4 separate regions of the Homo sapiens genome follow, and all the other regions are linked to region 1. The links are contacts of gene promoters, found by promoter capture Hi-C in blood cells and fetal thymus (Javierre and others, 2016). All regions are on one chromosome and are shown on one strand. Each heading gives the region's core, a stretch centred on a gene start or on the middle of the fragment in contact. The rest is flanking DNA. Distances are from core to core; before and after follow the strand shown.

Region 1 (2,735 bases), core at 236-2,735:
ATAGCCAAGTGTGGAAAACAATATTTGTGATATTTCATGTTCTCTTGTTAGAACTCAACTCTGTACCTGATACTTATATTTGCATACACAGTAATTGCATATTTGATTAAGAAAACTAACATAGGACTAAATTATAAGTTTACCAAACATTTGGATAAACTGCTGTGCAAAATACTTCAACAAAAAGTTTTTTTTACTAGGAACTCATCCAAATAAAGTAGTGTGAGTACCAGCACCACAAAGTTTTTTTTAAGAGCACCTCTCCTTTTTAGAGCTTAAGTAGAAATATCTAAATGGAATAAATCAGAGTCCCACTTAAGACCTTAGCACATGCACACGTTCATCCACTTGTTCCGTACTCATTAGCAAAGCTATGTATATTTGTCAGAAAACTCCTTTCTTTGGATAACACTGTTGTATTCAGGACTGCAACTTATGGCTCATATTCTGGAAATATGCTACTATTGATATCAAATGCAACATATCCCCAACTTTTATGACTGTCCCTAACTCATCTAAACACAAACCCAAATGTGTGCAAACACACTGGCTGGTAACAATCTTACTGAATTACGCCAAAAAAGAGTAAAGTCAAATTTGAAAATGTGGGAACAATTAAGCACTAAGATATTAATCAGGAAATGTATTTACCCAGCTTGTAAGTTTGAATATTTTGATATTGCACACATTTAATTTAAAGCTCATCAAAACTAAGGCAATGCATCCATACTCCCTGGATTTTAAATTCATTTTGCATGACTTAAAGAATTGAGAGAAATCGAAAGCATCTTTCAAAAATTCCCTCCAAAAAGTAATGTTATACTTCAAAGAAAAACAAAATCAACAGATATCAATTAATACCCTCAGGCCAATTTAACACGTCAGCATTACAAAAAGTTGTTTTCAATTAAACTGAAGTGTTTCTTTGCTTAAATACTTTCTTGTGTTCAACAACAAAATCTGACCCAAGCCAGGGTAGGCTGCCAAATTTAAGGCAAATGTCATTTATATCTTTATGCATGAAGCTGCCACGTTACTGGGCTTTTCAGCAGATACTTTCAAGCAAGGATCTACCTCATAAGTACATTCTAAACATGAGTTAAAAACAGAATTTAGAGCCCATTTTAATTCTGCATTGGTTATAGCCTTTACTGTAATACATTATTAAAATTTATCTAGCTGTTTGGCACAATCTGTTAGATAAAAACTCTTTGGAAGCATCATAGGCAACTTACGAGAACATTCTCTTAATACATAGGTTTATTTTTTTTTAATTAGGAGTTTTGCTTTTCTTCTGTAGAACAATCCTATATTTCTCTATAGAGTCTAAAGTTTAGAAAAATACCTCACAATGCTTTCTTTGAGCACTAAGTTCAATGATGGTGATAATACAATTTGGACAGTTTAAGTATTCTTGAAACTTTACCCAAAGTGGCACACAAAATAATCTTACTTTTTTTTTTCAAAGACAGAACAATTTCACAGCACACTCAATTTGAAGATAGACATTATATTTGAATTGGAAGTGAGGCTTGACTTACTCTGTCCAAATTCTAATGCATCACAGTCACTGGTGTGAAGCTAATAATGAAAGAAGCAAGAGGAGGCTTTCATTTCTATGGAGACAAATTGACATAGAAGCCAGATTAGTCTTTTCTTCCTGAACTAAGAACTGCTTTTGTTAGAAAACAAAATAATGTATTGTATTTACCTGAATACTGCTTTAAAAAGTTATTAATTCTTCTTTTACAAGAGGTATTAGAAATTAAAACAACTCAGATTTCTAATCCAAAATATATTTATCTTTGGAAAGCAAGGTAACCGTTGTGAAAACATTGTATTAAGAGAATAAAATGCAGTGACCTGAAATATGGGTGAACATATTCACACATGATAATGTAAATAAATATACAGAACCACTCAAATACACATTTATAAAGAGAATGGCAAAGTACCTAAAATAGCATTTTCACATATAAAATTTTTATATTAAAATATTGCTCATAATAAATAAGAGGTGATATGAATTCCATTTCCCTCTTAAAAATTATCTCTAGTAGTTTACACTAAGGAGTTAATCTGTTGTTTTGACAGGTGAATTAAAATGTTTAATAAAATGACACTGTAACAGTATATTTAAGTAGTCACATGTGATAAAATTTGTTTAGTAATTCTGGGAAAAAAGAGTCCCCAAATGAGCCAAAATGATTAGCCCTAGAAGACTAGAGTATAATGATCTGCTTTATTTGACAAAGATGTTAAATACTGCCTTATGTTTGGCAAATTTAATGACCATAAAAAAACGGACCACAACTTTCTTCAAACTTCTTCAAAGTTTGCATGTCTGGGAGACCAATAAAGGGCAGGGCATACGAAGTAAGTCTGTTTAGGTCAGTTGTTTATGGGTAGGTGCGACTTCATTCCTGTTCGCCCTACTTGCAGACATGGTAACTTAGAACAGTTCTTCAGAAGCTGTTCGATGGCAACGTGGCGGACATGGAGCTGTGAGGCCAAAGAATCTTTTTCTTGCACTTGGTGAGTTAACTCTTCAAAAACTTCTGTAAAAGATTTAAAAACTTTCATTTTTAGTATGCAGAAAGCCGGTGCTATGATTTATATTTCAAGAACTCTAACTGAAATCTATGCATTGGGCAAAGTGTCACAATGAAACTGATTTGATACCAAGGAAACAGTTCTGTTCTCTACAAAGCATATCAGTTCTGATCATCCTAGGC
Region 2 (2,735 bases), core at 72-2,571, 3.4 Mb before region 1:
AAACCTAAGAAATGCAGGGAGCAATTTTTTTTTCTTTGAAAACGGATGAAAAATTTGAACATTTTTATGGCTAGGTTTATTCAATAAGCAGCACTGATACAACTGTCTATTTTGAAACTAAATAATGGCCGGCATGGTGAAATCCCGTCTCTACTAAAAATACAAAAATTAGCCAGGCGTGGTGGCACACGCCTGTAATGCCAGCTTGGGAGGCTGAGGGAGGAGAATCACTTGAACCTGGGAGGCAGAGGTTGCAGTGAGCCAAGATCATGCCATTGCATTCCAGCCTGAGAGACAGAATGAGACTGTCTCAAAAAAAAAAACAAAAACTAATTCATTTAGAATTTCACTTCATTTAGAATTTCACTTCATAACTTCCAAGAAAAACTCCACATGGAAAAAAGCTTTAAATGTTTAAAAGAAAAAAAAAGCAGCGAAATCCAAACCAACAAATACATAAACGTATTAAGAGGGAAAAAAAAGTAGCAGTGGATAGGATGGGATAGGCTACAGTAAACATGATAAGAGTCTAAAATCAAAAATTTAAAACTTTGACATCCAGCTCAAAAACATCAGTGAAAAAAAAAAGGTAAGGAAAAGATAACAAAAACATATAATGAAGGTCTTTTATAGCTCACTAAGGAAAAGAAAAACACACCAAAACAAAAAAGGACAAAGAAAAATGGACCATAAAAGAAAATTAAAATATCAATAAAATTCTAAAAATTCTGATCTCACTAAAAAAAATCAAAATAAATAAAAATTAATACAGGATACTATTTTTCACTTATCTGACTGTTAAAGATTAAAAAAAATAACTAGCGAAGATACAGCCACTCTAAAAAATTATGGTTAAGAGCATATAACCTTTCTGGTGAGCAAACCAGAAAAATAAATCAAAAGCCTTAAAAACGTACACATTTGACCTATCAATTAGACTTCTAGCATTCAAGTTAGGAAACTTTCAGAGAAGTGTACAAAGATAAGTAAGGATATTACCGGAATCTCCAACATTAGTGAAAAACCACAAAAAAGTACACTGATAGAGACTAGTCTAATTAATAATGGAATAGTCATTCCACAAAATCATTAAAGATAATGACATGATCCTATTAATTATCCATGACATATTAAATAGCAAAAAATAGCACACCTGGTATGTTCTCTTTATATGTATATAAATATGTACACATACACACACAGAATATCTATCTATGGTACACAGGGCTTCATCAACCTTCCTGCTACCTTGAAAGAGCTAAGCAAGACATGCTGAGGATGGGACAGCAAGAAAATGGCAAGGCCTTAAGTACCTGTTAGCATTATGGAGTCAGTGATTAACTGATCCTATAGCTGCTGTGGAATTTCTGGTTATGTGAGATAACAGAACTTTCATGTATTAATAGATAAAACTAGACGAGATAGAATGTTTTGTGACATGAAGCCAAAGCATTAACTAAAAGAGTACACTAAAATTAATATAGATTTTAGATTAATCACTTACCTTAAATGGGTATCTGCCAATTTCAGCCTCCAACTCTTCTGCGGTAAAAATCTTGCCTATGAATCTTTTGGCATCATATATTGTGTTTTGAGGATTTGAATCTGCCAGCTCTACGCTTTCATATCCCACATATACATCATTGTCAGTAAAAGACACCATGCTGGGTATGCTGATATGCCCATTTTCATCTGGAATCACCTTTACTTTTCCTGTGCCAGGAAAAAACACCCCAACAGAACAATAGGTGGTGCCAAGATCAATACCAATCACTTTAGGAGTAGGCAATGGTAAATACTGTTGTGCCAAATAGCCGGCCAACAGGAGAGTCAAAACAGCCGATCCTGAAATAAAGGAAAATTAAAAGATGTATTTTATCAAACTAGTACAATGTACTAAATTACTGTAGCAAAGTCCCTTTAATATCACTCGTTGAAACAAGGCTAAAAAAGACAAATTTCAAAATTTTTTATAGGACTGCTGATAGCACTCCTCTCAGACAGCAAGTTTTTCAAAATGTAAACTGGTTATAATAAAATTTAAAATGAAGTAAACACAAACAACAAAAAACCCTATAACTGTATGTTTGTGTCATTCTCTAATAAATGTAATAAAATGTAAAAATATTTCAATAATATTTGTGCAGATGCTGACAAGAAACAACATTTATCTGGAGCAAAAGCCAGATATAATCTAATATTCTTGATCAATTGATATTTAGATTTTACAGCTTTATAAAAAGCTTCGATTATCTTTTTTTAAAAGCTCCATTATTAAAATTCTCACAAGAAAAACTTTATTATTTTATAAGTCTAAAATTCTCTCCTCGTATCTCACCTCCTTTTCCCTTTCAAAAGGATGAAATGAATAAATGGGATAAAATGATTTTGAAAGTTCCTTAGATATGAAACTGTCACTTCAAAACAGAACACAGTTAACTTTTTATGTATTTAAGTATGAACTAGGGACTTCCTTCTTGCAGTGGTAATATTTAGGGGAGAAGAAGCATAAAGGTGGGCAACCCTGACGGCAACATCTATGAAAGCTTCTTGAAGACAAGTTTCGTTCACTGTTGTATCCCCCAGACCAGGAATAGCAGATGCCCAACAAATACTAATTTAAAAAAAAAAGAAAAAAGAGTAGGAACAAATGCCACGCAGATTGTAAACATAAGCGAAGAAAGATGCCCCTTTAGTTTTTAATGAATCTCGTATTTGGTATCAGGAGGCTGTGT
Region 3 (2,735 bases), core at 72-2,571, 3.3 Mb before region 1:
AGCTATTCATCTGATCTTTCTGAATATTATCTGAACACTTTTCAAGTATAGCTAATACATTTGGCCCCAAACATTTTGCTACCTGCTTGGGATAAAACTTGATTACAGATTCATATTCTGTAAAACGGAAAAGCTAAAATGTATTAGTGCTTTGTTTGGAGAGAAGTGGTCAAGGCTAAAAATTATTTAAAAGGTGCACTACGAATTAAAATAAAATCCAATGGAAAATTATATGTTTAAGAAAGAAGAAGAAGAAGCCTTTGCAAAGTGAGACATCAATTTAGGGGTGAATTTCTGGTGACTGTAAACAATGGAATGAGGCCATTTCTCCTTGGCATGCAAGCACCAACTGGAAGCAAGAATGGGACCGGACAGTGGAAACTTTCTGTCTGCCATCTTTAGACAGCATGTAGTAAGTTACCTATAAACATCCAAATGGATAAAGTAAGTACAAATATATCCCAAATTTAGAGTCTTCTCAACACCAAAGTCAACTGGGCCGTTCCTTTGTCTGAACCACAGTTATCCCTTGCCTGGTTTCTGCAATAGTCTGTTAACTGGTCTCACTCCCTTCAGTATATTTGAAACACAAAAGCCAAAATAAACCCACTAAACTGTAGGCCAGATTCTGTCACTTCTCAAACATCTTTCAACACTAGCTAAAATTATTTTAATGGCCTAGAACGCCTTCAGTGATCCAGCTCTTTGCGGCGGCTCTTCCCGCTATGCACTCTGCCCCACTGCTTCTCAAACACACCAGAGACAGTCCCATTTCAAGGCCTTTGCACTTGCTCTTCCCTCTGCCCAGAGTACAGTTTCCTTCACCAATCCCAAGACCAGCTCCTTCACTTTCTTCCAGTCCTTTTTCCAATGTCCCATTCTCACCAAGGCTTCTCTAGTTCTTCATATTTCAAATCCTTCTTTTCTGTTAATTTTTTTTTCTTCTTGGCACCTATCATTATCTAGCATACTGTATATATTACTTATTTATCCTATTTATTGTCTGTCATCTCCAGCAAATATGGTATCTTTTGTTCACCTTGGTATCGCCAGTGTATTGTCCATAATAAGCATTTAATAGACATTTGTTGCGTTGAAGGATAAATGAATGAACGAATGCATGGATTAGTGAATTAACTTTTAAGTCTTTTGAAAAGTAGAAAAAAGTGCTGCCAGGTTGGAAAACTTTAAAAATTCTTGATGTCCAGTCACATTTTATATTAGGTAAATAAGAATATTTGGGGATGGAACCCAATCATCAGTTTTTTTTTTAAAGCTCTTTAGTGATTCAAATATTCGGCCTAGGCTCCAAAAACCATCAACCTAGAGCATCATTTCCAAATTATAAAGTGCTCACAGAACTGCTGAGTATCTTGTTAAAATGTATGTTTTCATTTCGTAGGCCTGGGGGAGACTGGAAAATGCACATGGCTAACAAGCTCCTGGAATGCCCGTGCTGTTGCTCTATAGGACCACAGTGAGTAGCAAGTTCTTAGATTCAAGTCAGCCTTGATGAACCTTGAGATACATTTTAACATGTTCTAGACTTCATTTTCTCCTGACTTGTCTTATTTGGTTTTATGTTTGCATTATAGTTTATCAAAAATACTTTTTAAAATGCTATAAATGCTACATAAACACAAAAATGAAGACAACCTTTTGAGATATCTGGTTTTTTGTTTTGTTTTGTTTTTGGAGCGGACGGAGGTAATAACTAGAAGTTAAAATAAATATTTACTTATAGCCACCGTTTTTTAAAGGGGAAAAGAGTAAATCTAACATATTACCTACATTTTATATCATGTATTTTATTCCAGAAAACTCTGTTTGAAAAGGCAAACATTCAACAAAAATTGTACCCCAGATGAAGAAGTAATAGAGAGTAGGAGGAGAGAGACACAGGCTTAGAAGCAGAAAAACTGTGCCATAAATCCCAAATCTTTTAACTTGTGGAAAATTTTTGCATCTACAGGGCTTTTTTCTTCTTTGTAAATTGGAGATAAAAATAATGTCTACCTCCTGGGGTTTTGAGAAGATTAAACATAATAATGGACATGAGCACCTTGGACAAGTACCTGGCCTCAAGTAAGCACCAGTGCATATAAATACTTATTCTCTTTCTTATACCTGGTTAGATAAGAGTTAAAAATGTATCCTAGCAGTCTTGATACAAAAAAACAGTGAAGAAAGCTCTTTAATGGTACAACTATGTGTCATCCTTGTCTAGGAGCATAAATTTGCACAGCAGGCAGTGCAGTGAAAACAGCTCATAATCAACTCATCACCTCTCATCATTGCTAGGATCAAATGCAAATGGGAAAGAATGCCACTTCAGTCATTGCTAGTGAAAATTAGCATCTGTGACACTAATGGTGTCTCATTTAGTATGCACTTTAGATTAAAAAGAATGGTTAAAAAAAAGGCTATTTCCAGAACTGTCATTATTCTAACGTTTCCCTCAAAAATAACAATGGTACTTGAATCTCCTTTACTCAAAGAAAAACCTGCTAAAATTTATTAACACGGATCATTAATCCCTCTCAAGTAAAGGCCAAGATGTTCTAATTACAGTCACTAACTTTAATTTGTGGGATCCATGTCTTTCTATTTTCAAAATTTCTTCCATATTCTTTAACCTGGACCAAGTTCTACCTTTAGGTAACAATGGGATTCTTTCATAACATTGGGTATATTAGAGTTCTTAACATAAAGCTTAAAATGAGTTACAGTTGTAC
Region 4 (2,735 bases), core at 131-2,630, 3.1 Mb before region 1:
ACAGGGCACAGACTAGGAACAAAGGAGCGCTTCTTATCAGAGACAAGAGGCACTGGGGCCAGAAAAGCAGACTAAGCAAGAAGTGATACAATCAGGTCAACGTCTGGGCTGAGAGATATAAGATAGATGCCAAAGCCAGAGGAGCAGAGTGTGAAACAGGGAGATAAAATGGAGCAGAGCCTGCTTTGAAATGCAGAGATGCGATTGAAAGAGGGAGGATGTACAGCAACAGAAAAGGCAGCAGGTGATTAATAGGCATTTTCTGGATGCAAAAATTAATAAATAAAAGAATAACTTATAAGGGATAAATGAGAGAGTGGCAACAAAACCATATTTAAACATTTGCAACCTGGGTAACTGGCAAATTATTAGTATGATTTAATAGAATTAGAGAATTCGGAAGAAAATGAAAGCTTGAGTAGTGCACATCGAAATGCATTTTGGATGGGACATTTAGCCATCAATGTTTAACAGGCAATTGAAAATGTATGGAGCTCAGAAGAAAAGTAGATACTGGAGTCTGCAGCTTACAAAATGCTTTACAATATTTTACCTTATTCTCTAAAATAACTAATAAAAAAACTGGGGTTGAGAAAAGTTGAGTAACCCCCACAAAGTGGCACAGTTAATGGGTGGATAACCTAGAATTTGAATTCAGGCTTCTTACCATAAAGTTGAGTGACTTCCCCAAAGTGGCACAGTTAATGGGTGGATAATCTGGAATTTGAATTCAGGCTTCTTATCATAAAGTTCAGTGGTGGATAATCTAGAATTCGAATTCAGGCTCTTACCATAAAGTTCAGTGCTCATTTTATTACATTTTACTGCCTTTCATATAAGAACGAGCAAATCATCTAAAGAAAAAGAGGGTGTCAGATACAGGATTCTATTTGGGCTGCAAATATGATAATGCCTTATGCTAACGTGCATAGCTTCGGGTGACAACAAACTGAAATTTATCAAAAACAGGTTGACCTCCCCCTTGTGAAGGATTTTTTTTATTCATTCCAAGAGTTGCTTGCTTATTGCAATTTTGCCTGCTGGTGTGGACATAGCTGAGAGCATCACCTGCCTGCCAAAAAAAGTAAATATGCTGGAAGCTGTTAAGTGGATTAAAACTTGGTACCACAAAGTAGTGCCCAATAACATAGTCAGAAATTCCACCTCAGCCAAAGATGTTCCTAAAAACTCAAAAACAAAAAGGAGAGGAAAGAACATTTTAGGAGGATTTATGAGGTAGAAGATACGAAGAAATTATACAATATACAAGCAAAGAAAACAAATTTTTGAAAATTTGCCAGATAGCTGGAAGCCAAAATTGTGAAAAGAAAAATCCCTATGAGAACTGCTAGTTTTATAAAATATTCTGGGAATTTAAGAAAAGGTAAATTAAATAAATTATGCATTAGTTATATTATAATTATGCTGCTGAGCTGGCATCCTTATTTTCTCCAAATTCTATCAATCAGTCAAAGAAAGTCACAGTGCATGGTCAGATTCAAAGTCACATTGCAATGGATGTAAACACAGACACCAAGAACAATTGCAGTCATTTTGTTGTCAGCCTGCAACTACCAGTAACCAGTGGTTTGATTTCAGGCAGTTCATTTCTCTTGGCCTCAGTTTCTTTATCTCCAAGATATGACTTAGGACTTTCTCTGTAGGATTCCTTACACTCCTCTGTTCCTAAAGCAACAACTTTCAAAACTGCCTTACAGGCAAATTAGAGGACTTTTCTGTATCTCAAAAAATACATATATATATAAACAAAGTGACATGTAGTTGCTTCAGTACGTGTAAAGTTACTTATTAAAAAGCAAAAATGCCATATAGAACATAAAAAGTGAAATAGGAAGATGAAATAAAATCAAACAACATTAAGTTACTATTGCAAGTCGCAAATGATTGAAGATGGCTTGTTTAGCTGTTTGCCAACACTAAACCAAATTGTCCACTTCATGTCCTAAATGGCCCAGCTTGGCACTGGATCATAACCCATATTCCACTTTATAGATTTTTCTTCATCAGTAATTCAGGGTGTGAAAGTGATCGATATTAGAATTACTCAGACTGTTAATATCGTTTAAATTAAATGGTTAATTGCTTCATTTTCTATTTTACTTGGACCATGAAGATTGAACCAATTTTATGAAGCCCAAACTTTAGACAAGCAGGTAGTAAGTGAAGGAAGTCAGTCACCAGCCAACAGCACTTCCTGTTTTCATATGCGGATAAGCAGACTCTCGTTAGAAACCCCAACTGCCAGAGAAGACAAAATGCTTTACTTCTCTCAGACTGACGAGGAAACAGTGGCTAACATAGAAATTGTTATTGTCCAGAAATAAAAACAAGCTTTCTTTAAATGCTAAGGAAAAAAATAAAGATTTAGTATTTTCCTCTGGTTTCATTTGCAAACATCTGTATGCACTGTTTTTCTTCAGGATACACAGTTGAAATGTCATATTACTGGAATCTGGAGATCACTTTGATTAAATTTTGCCTTGCATAAAGCAGGCTAAAAGAAGTTAACCCTAACTGCCTCCACCAATAAGAAAGAATGTATCTGAATTCAGCACAAATGGAAACTTGTAATGTTCTACAGTCAGGTGAGAATGAGGAAATGCTCAGATCTAAAAGGAGCTGTTGCTGTAAGGAAACCATTTCCTTGATATCTGCATGTTCATCATCTTAAGTCTCAGGCCCCCAGACAGCTGTCTCTTCAACTTCAGGAAATT

Evidence for each region. Contacts are between HindIII fragments. The CHiCAGO score rates a contact against its expected background, and 5 or more counts as called.
Region 2: a contact is called between a fragment that was not itself captured here and the fragment with the promoter of C21orf91-OT1 in region 1, in 1 of 17 cell types (total CD8 T cells). The highest score is 7.2, in total CD8 T cells.
Region 3: a fragment that was not itself captured here is called in contact with the fragment with the promoter of C21orf91-OT1 in region 1 in 2 of 17 cell types (activated CD4 T cells and non-activated CD4 T cells); the score reaches 9.6 in activated CD4 T cells.
Region 4: a fragment that was not itself captured here is called in contact with the fragment with the promoter of C21orf91-OT1 in region 1 in 1 of 17 cell types (total CD4 T cells); the score reaches 8.1 in total CD4 T cells.

What each region holds. Positions count from the first base shown.
Region 1 is chr21:17,791,024-17,793,758 of GRCh38, forward strand. C21orf91-OT1 (C21orf91 overlapping transcript 1) reads right to left here and starts at 1,486. Exons shown (of 4, transcript NR_038871.1): 1 at 1,454-1,486. It overlaps C21orf91 (chromosome 21 open reading frame 91), which reads right to left. Exons shown (of 5, transcript NM_001100420.2): 5 at 1-2,558. The coding sequence ends at 2,392. All of the region lies in intron 2 of LOC124900465 (a long non-coding RNA gene), which reads left to right. The HindIII fragment of the contact is 3,892 bases long and covers 1-2,735 here.
Region 2 is chr21:14,379,699-14,382,433 of GRCh38, forward strand. It overlaps HSPA13 (heat shock protein family A (Hsp70) member 13), which reads right to left. Exons shown (of 5, transcript NM_006948.5): 2 at 1,505-1,845. Among named protein-coding and RNA genes, the nearest start is that of HSPA13, 2.1 kb to the right of the region's middle. The HindIII fragment of the contact is 1,839 bases long and covers 403-2,241 here.
Region 3 is chr21:14,536,444-14,539,178 of GRCh38, forward strand. The region is part of intron 1 of SAMSN1 (SAM domain, SH3 domain and nuclear localization signals 1); the gene reads right to left. It overlaps LOC124905053 (a long non-coding RNA gene), which reads left to right. Exons shown (of 3, transcript XR_007067925.1): 2 at 1,403-1,477; 3 at 1,973-2,085. Among named protein-coding and RNA genes, the nearest start is that of SAMSN1, 8.5 kb to the right of the region's middle. The HindIII fragment of the contact is 2,777 bases long and covers 1-2,710 here.
Region 4 is chr21:14,673,724-14,676,458 of GRCh38, forward strand. No RefSeq gene overlaps it. Among named protein-coding and RNA genes, the nearest start is that of SAMSN1-AS1, 93 kb to the left of the region's middle. The HindIII fragment of the contact is 1,939 bases long and covers 412-2,350 here.